3 separate regions of the Homo sapiens genome follow, and regions 1 and 3 are each linked to region 2. Evidence: promoter capture Hi-C in 16 types of primary human blood cells and fetal thymus (Javierre and others, 2016). All regions are on one chromosome and are shown on one strand. The core of a region is centred on a gene start or on the middle of the fragment in contact, and the rest is flanking DNA. Distances in the headings are between cores, read along the strand shown. Region 1 holds the start of GNB1 (G protein subunit beta 1). Region 2 holds the start of SMIM1 (small integral membrane protein 1 (Vel blood group)). Region 3 holds the start of PANK4 (pantothenate kinase 4 (inactive)).

The links. Contacts are between HindIII fragments. The CHiCAGO score rates a contact against its expected background, and 5 or more counts as called.
Region 1: the fragment with the promoter of GNB1 here is called in contact with the fragment with the promoter of SMIM1 in region 2 in 1 of 17 cell types (erythroblasts); the score reaches 5.0 in erythroblasts.
Region 3: the fragment with the promoter of PANK4 here is called in contact with the fragment with the promoter of SMIM1 in region 2 in 4 of 17 cell types (naive B cells, endothelial precursors, erythroblasts and 1 more); the score reaches 6.5 in naive B cells.

The regions. Positions count from the first base shown.
Region 1 is chr1:1,889,482-1,892,482 of GRCh38, reverse strand. It overlaps GNB1 (G protein subunit beta 1), which reads left to right and starts at 1,396. Exons shown (of 12, transcript NM_002074.5): 1 at 1,396-1,663. GNB1-DT (GNB1 divergent transcript) reads right to left here and starts at 1,303. Exons shown (of 2, transcript NR_168264.1): 1 at 1,100-1,303; 2 at 1-583. RefSeq lists silencers at 612-861, 922-1,021, 1,142-1,331, 1,892-2,081. The HindIII fragment of the contact is 9,511 bases long and covers 1-2,969 here.
Region 2 is chr1:3,771,488-3,774,502 of GRCh38, reverse strand. SMIM1 (small integral membrane protein 1 (Vel blood group)) reads right to left here and starts at 1,754. Exons shown (of 4, transcript NM_001288583.2): 1 at 1,715-1,754; 2 at 1,322-1,440. It overlaps CCDC27 (coiled-coil domain containing 27), which reads right to left. Exons shown (of 12, transcript NM_152492.3): 12 at 2,858-3,015. The coding sequence ends at 2,980. RefSeq lists enhancers at 375-890, 891-1,406, 2,693-3,015 and a silencer at 1,468-2,347. The HindIII fragment of the contact is 1,777 bases long and covers 744-2,520 here.
Region 3 is chr1:2,525,049-2,528,174 of GRCh38, reverse strand. PANK4 (pantothenate kinase 4 (inactive)) reads left to right here and starts at 1,579. Exons shown (of 19, transcript NM_018216.4): 1 at 1,579-1,711. The coding sequence starts at 1,588. RefSeq lists enhancers at 1-110, 832-1,552. The HindIII fragment of the contact is 7,457 bases long and covers 1,182-3,126 here.

The DNA.
Region 1 (3,001 bases), core at 147-2,646, 1.9 Mb after region 2:
GCGGACAGGTGAAGTGGGAGGGAGAGAGAAGGGTGGCAAGGCGTGGGTTCCCTGTCTGGTGGAGGCTCCCCTAGGTAGGGGGAAGCGCGTGGCACGGAGGGCAGGTGGCGGACGCATCTGGAAGCCGCACTTACTGTGTGTCCACTTTCTCACACAAGCACCATGCACACAAAACAAGAAGGAAAACGTCAGCTGAGAGAGGCGGGTGGTGTCCCAGGGTGTGGAGAGAGTAGAAGGTGGGAAATAGGTGTTGGAGGTGGCATGGCCCCTTGAGGTTGTGGCCCTGGTTGAGGGGAGGCCCAGTGGATGAGGTTGGGTCTCTCTCCCCTTCAGCTGTGCTGGTGCAGGCCTGGAGGAAAACGGACGCCAGGTTTGGTGTGGAAGGGGAGCTCGGAGGCGATGAAGGCCCAGGCAGGTGGAAGGTGGTGGTTGAGGACCGGGGAGCAGGGCGCTGGCTGGGGAGAGGCAGAGTGAAGAAGCCGAGGGTGAGGGGCAGCCGGAACTCAGCTGGAAAGACAGCAGGAGGCGGTGGGCGCAGGGGCGGGTTCCATGGACGTTCTGGAGGCTTCTGAGGACACCAAGCCTGGAAGCCAGGACATGTGGCCTTCTTGACTTCGTTCCCCTTCCTCACCTGGAGGTCTCCAGTCCCCGCTGTCCACTGCTCAGCGGCATGGGAGGAGTCCGCGGCCTTACCCCGACACTCCCGCCCACCGGCCCCCGCCCCTGCCAGGCGGCCCTGCTCGCAGCAGCGCGAGGAGCCACGGGGTGCTGCCCTCCTCCGCAGCCCGAGGCCCACTTCACACGCACTGAGCCCAAGCGCGAGTCTCTGCCCGTCAGCCGCGTCTGAGCTCGCCGCAGTCCCTGCTTGAGAGGCCGGGGGGCACCTGCGCCTGCCCGGGACCCTGACCTGCTAGCGGGGCCTGTTGCCTCCTCTGCAGGAAGCGATCTCGCCCGCGGTGCCCCCACCCGCCCCGTCCCCGGAGGGACCGCCCCCGCCCGCGGCCTTCCCGCCCCTGCCCTGTCGCTTGAGTGCCCCCCGCCCGCCGTTACCCCACCCCCGCCCCTGGAGGAGCCCCCGCCCACGGTTACCCAACCTTACCCTGTCCCCGGAGGGCTCCACGCCCGCGTTCCCCCCGCCCCATCCCAACTCCGAGGGTCCACTGCCCCGGTCCCCATCCCGCCCGGTCCCCGCAGGGCCGGGCCGCCGGGGGTCTCCCGGGGCAGCGGTACCCGAAGGCAGCAGCACGGCCCCTTTAAGCCGCTCGGACACGCGCTCGGGGCCCGATGCGGTTTGGACGCGCACAGGCGTGCGCGTGCCCGTCGGGCCTGGCGAGCGCGCGCGACGCGCGGCGTGCGTGGTGACGCGAGCGCGTGGGGTTTTCCGAGGCTGCGGGCAGGGGCCCGCCGCGCCCATCCCGATGGCTGGAGGCGTCTGAGGGGCGGACGGAGGCGGCGGCGGCGGCGGCGGGAGCGGGAGCGGGCGGCGAGTGGGGAGCGGGGCCGGGAGTGGAGCAGCCGCCGCGGCGGGACTGGACCGAGCCTCGCCGGCGCGCACCTGCCCGCAGCGCCCGCGGAGCGCGCAGCGCGGCCCGAGCGCGACGACCTGCCGAGCGGCGGCCGAGGCGGCGGTGTGGGCGCGTCAGGCCGCGACGAGGGCGCTGAGGTGAGCGCGGCAGCCCCCAGCCCCGGACCCGGGTCCTGTTCGTCCACCCGCCCGCCCTGGGGGCGCCCGCCCCGCCCCCACCCCACCCGCCGGTCGGGGCCGCGTCTTCCTGCCCCGCCCGGGTGCGGCGGGCGGCGTCCGAAGGGGGGGCCGGGGGCTGGGGTCCGAGGTTCGGGGTGCAGGGTCGGGGTCGAGGGCGGGGTCTAGGGAGAGGAGCCGGGGTCCCAGGCCCAAGGCTGGGGGCCGAGTTTCGGCACCGGGGTGCGGGGTTGTGTGCGCCGCGGGCGCTTCCCGTGGCGGCGGCCGGGGCCCCGGGGGCGCGGGTCGGGCGGGGCCGGGCCCTGCGTGGGGAGCCGGACGTGGCTCTCGGGCCCGCGGCGCGAGAACAAAGGCCGGGCGGGCCTGCAGGCGGGGCGGTGTCGGCGGCCGGAGCCCCCGCGCGGGCCGCCTATCGGGGTGACTTTGAGGGCCGGGCGGCCGCGGGGCGCGAGCGTGGGGAAGGGGAACAATGAAATGGGGAAGCCGGGCCGCGCGCCGCGGTCGGAGTAGGGATTTAAAGCGGAAGCCGGGCGCGGCGTCGGGAAATGGGAAAATAACGGTTTCGGCCCTTTTCGCTGTGTCGAGCCGCTGAGGCAGTCGCGCTGTGGCCTCGCCCTTCTCCTGCCGAGGCCCGGGTCTGTCCGGCGCTGGCGCCCCGCGCGTGTCGACTCGAGGGTTGCGCGGACCCCGGCCCGGCCCCGCGAATGAATGGGCCCGGTGGCCGCGCCAAGATGGCGCTCCCACCGCTGCCTTTGTGGGGCGGCCGCCGCCGCGCCGAGTTTCGGGGCCCGGTTTGCGATATTCCGAAGGCCCGAAGGTGGGGGAGAGGACAGGAAATAGCACAAAGGCTGGGTGTCTTCCTCTTGCCTGGATCGGCTTTTCGGCTGGAAGCGGGGTGGGGGTGGGGAGTGGGGAGATCTGTTGAAAATTCCACAGGGCTGTCGGCTGAGGCTTTTGACTTTTAAGAACCTGCTATATTTTTTCTTGTGAATCGATAGTTGATTCAAATGATATTTTAACATTTCTTGTGTCCGTTAAATTACATGGTTAGCATGCAGAAGCAGTATCAGCTTTTGTTTGCTTAATTCATCTTCATGGAAGCCTTTTTTTTTTTTTTTTTTAAGAGATGGGATCTCTTTGTAAAAGAGATCCTGTTAACCAGGCTGGTCTCGAACTCTGGGGCTCAAGCGATCCTCCCGCCTCAGCCTCCCAAAGTGCTGGGATTAGCGGCCTTAGCCACCGTGCCCAGCCTGTCTTCATGGAAGCTTTTTCTTAAGATTGTGAAATGGGCTCCTGAAG
Region 2 (3,015 bases), core at 505-3,004:
GTGCCCAGAGGGGCGAGGAGACCACGGGGACTGAGCAGGAACTCCAAGCACTAGCACAGCTGCCCGGCCGGCCTGAGCCAGCCCGGACTCTAAGCACCTCCTTTACCCTCTGGCCTCTGTTTCGACCTCCTATTTACCTAAGGGGGTGTGGGGGTGGAGGAGTTGGAGGGGGCACGAGAAGTTGACAACCCACCCAGGCTGTGGGACTGGGGTCAGCTCTCTGGTCTGCTGGGCCCCCAGTGTCCCCTCTCAGCATCTGGCCCCCAGGAGTGGGGTCCTCGGGCAGGCAATGGCAGGCCCCTCACTTCTAGGAGCTGAGGCTTTGCTGGGCCCCCTCCAGCGGGGAAGGCTGACCTTCCTCCCAGGTCATCGGCACAGAGGCCTAAAGGCACAGCAGCCACTCCCCTGCAAGAAGCCAGCTCAGAAACTCAGGCCCCAGGCAGTTCTGAGACTCCCGGCACTTCCATGTCTGCCTTCCCCCAAAGCCCAGAGAGGCAGAAGGAGCTGTCTCAAAGCCATAAAGTGTGCCTTCGGTGGGAGCCCTGGCTCAGTGCAGCCTGGCACTCAGGCCCGGAGAGGCCCAGCCTCTACTGGAGTATGGGTGCTGTTTTCCCGGAGCATGTGGAGCGGTCAGCTGCCTACCCGAGGTTCACGCCCTCTTGCCTGGTGTGCAGAATCCCATTCTGGTCCCAGCAGCAATGTGCCAGCCCCAGGTAACAGCCATGACCCGGGTAAGACAAGCTTAATACCACCACCCCTGCTTTCCCAAGTCACCCAGCTGGGGTCCAGGAGCCAGGGTGCAGCAGGGGATGGGAGAGTTTGCTTCTGTGAAAGCAGCAGCAGCCACCTCCTTCTTCCAGACTCGACGTGATGGCTGGAGCTGCTGGAGCTGCAGCAGCCGCCTTGCAACCCGACATCCACGCAGCATTAGTCTCGGGAGTGCTGAGGCTCCAAGTCCACAGCAGCAGCCCACCATGGGCCTCCCGGTGGGAGGGGTCAAGCCCAGTGTGTTCAACTCTGGGATCATGGGTTCCTGTCTTGCTGACGTAGAACACGTTGTTCCCAAGTCACCCCGGTGCACAGCCACCAGAGCCGGCCCTTGAGGCTGGCCTCCCTCACTTGCTCAGTAAACGTCTCTCCACACTCATGTGATGGTCACAGGTGTGGCGGCAGGAACCCATCAGGGACTCCCCTCCAGGCCCTGGGAGGCTCCCGGATCCTGGCACCTCCTGGGGGCTTGTGAGTGCAGGAAGGCCCTAGGTACACAGGCGCCCCTCCATAGACCTCTTCACCCCACAGCGCCTCAGGGCCCCACACTTACCCGGAGAACCTTGCCTGAGGGCTGGGGCCTCTGGGCCAGGTTGCGGTCAGGGCCTGGCCAGCGGCCCGCACCTCCCAGCGGGGCAGGTCGTGGGCTGAGGTGCGGCAGACGCCTCGAGCCTAAAAAAATAAAGGTGACCGGAGAAGCCGATCTTGCTAAGGGCCGGGAAGGGAAAGTGGCTGGTGTCGGGGGTCCCCAGCAGCCACAAGGAGCCGGGCAAGGAGCCGGGCGGGCAGTTCCGGCCCTGGCCCCGCACCGCGGGTTAGGCCGGTGGGGGTCAGTCCAGGGCACGCCCCCACCCCCGCCAGTTCTCAGCCAGCGAGGCCGCGCACAGTCGCACCTGCCCACTGCGGCCGCACCGGGAAGCCGCAGCCCGGACCCCGCGCGCCTCACCTGTGTCCCCGCGTCTCTGGGCTCCGCAGGGGCCGGGCCTGGGCAGGGGGCGAGGGCGGGGGCGGGGCCACGCGGGGAAGGGCTGGAGCCAGCAGCGGGGAGGTGTCTGGTCCGGAAGGTGGCGGGGCTAGAGTGGTGGGCGGGGCCATGCGGGGAAGGTCTGGGGCCAGTAGCGGGGAGGCGCCTGGTCCAGAAGGGGCCGGGGGCGGGGCGAGAGGGGGCGGGGCGAGAGGGGGGCGGGGCCATGCGGGGAAGGGCTAGGGCCGCAGCGGGGAGGCGCCTGGTCCAGAAGGGGCTGGGGGCGGGGCGAGTGGGGCCGGGAGACGCCTCGTCCGGAAGGGGCCGGGGCTCTAGGCCGCCCAGCCCCGGGGCCAGGAGGTGCAGGGGGGCCGGGCAGGGTCTGCAGAGGGCTGCACTTTCTGCCCCCAGACGGCTCGCCCTTGGGGCCTCCAGGGTCCCCGACCTCCTTCACCCCTGCTGGAGCCCCTCCGACGCCACGAGCCTCCCAGCCCCGCGGGGACCCGGCTGCAGCGCCGACGAGACTGCGGGAGGCTCTGGGCGCGTCTGGGCCTGAATGCTGGGTTCGGGGACCCGGCCGCGGGGACCGTCCTCCTCCGGGGCTTGAGGGGCGTGGCGCCCGCACGTGGCCCACGCTCGGTGCTCGCGGCGGGAAGGGAAGCAGGTGTGGGTGGGGAGCAGAGAAGGGTAATGGGGAGAGTCCCTTCCGAAGGTGTTCAGGCGCCCAGAGCCTCAGAGGCGCCGGGGAAGCGTCGGGGACCACAGACACCGTTCCCGTGCGTAAAGCTTTCCTTCCAGGAGCGGGGGGATGGGAACAGAGCCCCCCACCCTCACCATCTTCCAGAGGGGTCCTCCAGCAAGAGAGTGCCCCAGCCAGGAGAGCCCCCAGGGCAGAAGGTCACAGACCCCTTCTGCTCAGGCGTGAGGTCTGTGCTGAGTGCTGGGCGGACACCCCGGCTCAGGCCTCTGGCAGCCTGGTGCCGCAAGGGGACCTGTTAGGAGCTAGGGGCACAGGCTGGTGTGCTGACTCCCTGTGAGTGAGCTTTGGAATGGGGAGTGTCCTTGTAGCTCAAGGTCGCAGAGGAGAGTAGGCCCCCGCGTGGATCCCAGAGAAGAAAAAGGTGGGACAGTGCCAACACCGGGGTTTAATTCTGAGTCTGAGAGCAGGACGCATGGTGGGGGCGGGTGGTTCTGGAGCTGGGCCCCGGCCTCTGCTGGGCTGACCGTATTTGGGGGCCTGGCTGGGCCTACTTGGAGGTCCCCTTCTTGGATTTGCTGGTCAG
Region 3 (3,126 bases), core at 330-2,829, 1.2 Mb after region 2:
GAAAGGGCATGTATTTTTAGGCAGGCCACAGGGTGTTGGCTGAGTCTGCAAGAACTGAGGCCTGTGGCTCCCAGGGACCAGCTCCCAAGGGGCAAAATCCATCCAGCAAGGATTGGGCCGGAGTGGGCCGCATTCCCACCCCCGCTGAATGGTAGCCCCGTGTGTGGGCCTGCCCTGCCTGCTCCTTCCTGCTCAGCCCCTCTCGCTCCGCTCAGCCTTCAGCCCCTTTCTGGCTACTCCACAGGCAGTCTAGACAGGGTCCCCCCACCAGACCAACCCAGTGCCTGCCAGTGGTCCCTACCGAGCCCCGGGGTATGGTGGGCAGAGGACAGGGAAGGCCCCCATTCACCTGCATGTTTCCCGCATGTTCAGTGGGCACACAGGTGGGCGCCCCTCATGGAGGGCACCTCCTGCCAGCCTGGCCCATGGCACACCATGCTGCCAGGGGTCTGAGCTGCCAGAGGTCTAAGCCGCCTGGGGTGTGCTCCACTCTTCCACCCAGGCCTCCCTGGGGCAGGCTCCCCCTCCAGAGCCACACACCCACCCCCTTGGAAGACACAGGCAAGGATGCCTCCTCCCTGAAGGCTTGCCCTGCGCACACAGATGCATTATCCCTGGAGTTTGTGCCGCCCCACAGGCCTGTGCTCCCAGGAGCCCTGCCAGGCAGCTGGTGGCATTCTCCACGTGCAGACAGAGGCTGAGGGCCAGAGACATGCAGTAATGACCCCGGGTTACCCGGGAGGGGCTGATCTGTCTGCTTCCAACACTGGGCTTTTTCCCAAGGCGCCCAGAGCCTCTGGAGAAGACGCATCTCTTCATGCCAGCAGGGCTTCCCAGCCACTCACCCTGGAACCCTGGCCTGCCCCACCTATACCCCTGTCCTGGCTCCAGCTGCTTCCAAGGCTTGTTCCTGCAGCCTCCCAGGCACCTGTCTTGCCCACAGGCAGCCTGCCTGGCTTCCCCCGACCACAGCACTTTCCACGGATCGCCATTACAGCACACATCTTCCCTACCCGCAGGTGCATGCCAGGCTGGGGCTCCTCCCAGGTGGGGCAGGGTTCCCCACTCCTCTGGTTTGCATGGGACTTTTAACATTGAAAGTCCCACGCCCCTGGGAAGCCAGGATTGAGTCACCCTAGCAAAGAGCGCATCACATTCGCCCTGGCGTGCAGGGCCAAGCTTACAGCAGGCACTCGCTGAAGGGCAGGGCTCTCTGACAGTCTGCAGACCCACGTGCCCCCTTAGAAGCAGGTGGGCGGCCTCTGCGGCCTCCCTCAGCAGGGCTCAGAGCACTTGAGTTAAGCCTGTGGACAGCGCGGTAAAAGAACATCAGTCCAGATGTTCTGTGCTGATGCGCGATCTCTGGAGGATAACCGCCCGCCCGCCCGCAGCCCCGGGCCTCTCGGACCCCTGCCCAGCACTGGCCCTAGCTCGCCCTGTAGCGGCCGAGACCTCAGAGGCCGGGGGTGGGGGAGGGAAGGGGCGGGGCCGGCGCCTCATTAACATAATCTATGCGAGGGGGCGTTTGGCAGTCAAATATATGCGCATATATCTCCATGGCTGATGAGCTGGCCGGGCACTTTCAAAATGGCGGAGTGTGGAGCGAGCGGCAGCGGGAGCAGCGGGGACAGTCTGGACAAGAGCATCACGCTGCCCCCCGACGAGATCTTCCGCAACCTGGAGAACGCCAAGCGCTTCGCCATCGACATAGGTAGCCGCAGGCCGGGCGCCGGGCGCGGGCTGCGGGGGCGGGCGGGGCGCCGGCGGTGGGCCGGCGAGCGGGGGCGGCGGGAAGGACGAAGGGCGGGGGCGCGGGCCTCGCGCACAGCCTCACGGGCCTTGTAGTCCGCGGGCCCGCGCACAGCCTCACGGGCCTTGTAGTCCGCAGGGTCGCTGATGCGCGGGCTCGGGGCGACGGCCGGACTACAGCTACCGGCAGGCGCCGCAGGGACCAGAGCGGGGCCTGCCGGGCCTGGTAGTTCGCGCGGCCGTCCTGGGTGGCTGGGGGCCGGGGTCCAGCGTTACCCGCCGCGAGGTGGGAGGGTCGGCGGAATTTTATGTCTTCGGCCACATCGGCATCTGGGCGCCCCGGCTCCGCCGCTTGGCTGGTGGCTGGCCTGAGATTTGGGGTCCTTAGTTCTGGTCGAGACGAGGACGAGCTCGGCGGGAAGCCCTTGGCAGAGTGGCCCCGAAAAGGCCGCGCGTTCCCGCGGCGTGGCCAGCTGTGGCCCGCGGGCCGGACAGTCCGTGCACAGGCCCCGCTCTCTGGAGAGTGGACGCCGGGCGTGAGTTCAGGCGGCCGTGGACGTGGGACCTGGGAACTCGTGCCTCTGGTTTAAAAGCCACCCGTGCCTTCCGTGGCCTTTAAGGCGGCCTGCACTTCTGCCCTGGCCTCTCCAGGGTCCGCTGCAGACCCTCCTGCCTGATGGCTGTGCTCTCAGTAATGACGGCGGGCCAGGCTCTGTTCTAGACCTTTTTCCCACGCTCCTGACTCCCGGACACCTCCCAGCCACCTCTAGGGGAGGAACGCGAATTACTCCCTTTTCGCAGATGAGGATACCAAGCCCCAGAAAGGTGAACTAATTTGCCCAGGGTCATCGGGCTAGAAAGTGGCAGAACCAGGATTTGAACCAGCCACTCCCTGCTCTCCTACTCTGCCCATGTTTCAGGCATGAGGGCTTCCTGGGGGCAGCTTCACCTGGAGAAACCCCCCTTGAATAGCCGCTGCGGCTTCACATACCTCTCCCTCTTAGCACTCATCTCGGTCGTAGGCTGAGTCTGCTTGTGTGTGAATCCCACAAGAGCAGCGGTGTGTCTTGTAGCCCCAGCCCCCGAAAAGGATGCCCAACCTGTCTTTGCCGCCCAGTAAATACTGGGATGAATGGGCCTGCCGCTGACTGCTTCCCACCTCCCTGGAAAAGCTGGGACTCAGAGAGACCCAGGCCATTCCCTCTGAGCTGTGTGCTCCTGGTGCATCTGACATGTTTGCTGCTGTGGTGTCCTCGGGGTTGTTGGTGTCATCATCTCTCTGAGATGTCCAGCCAGGGAAGGGTGTCCTCTAGGGAAGTGGGGGGCGATGAGAATGGAAGTAGCTATAGGTCCTGGCTCCCACCTTTCAGTGAGCTT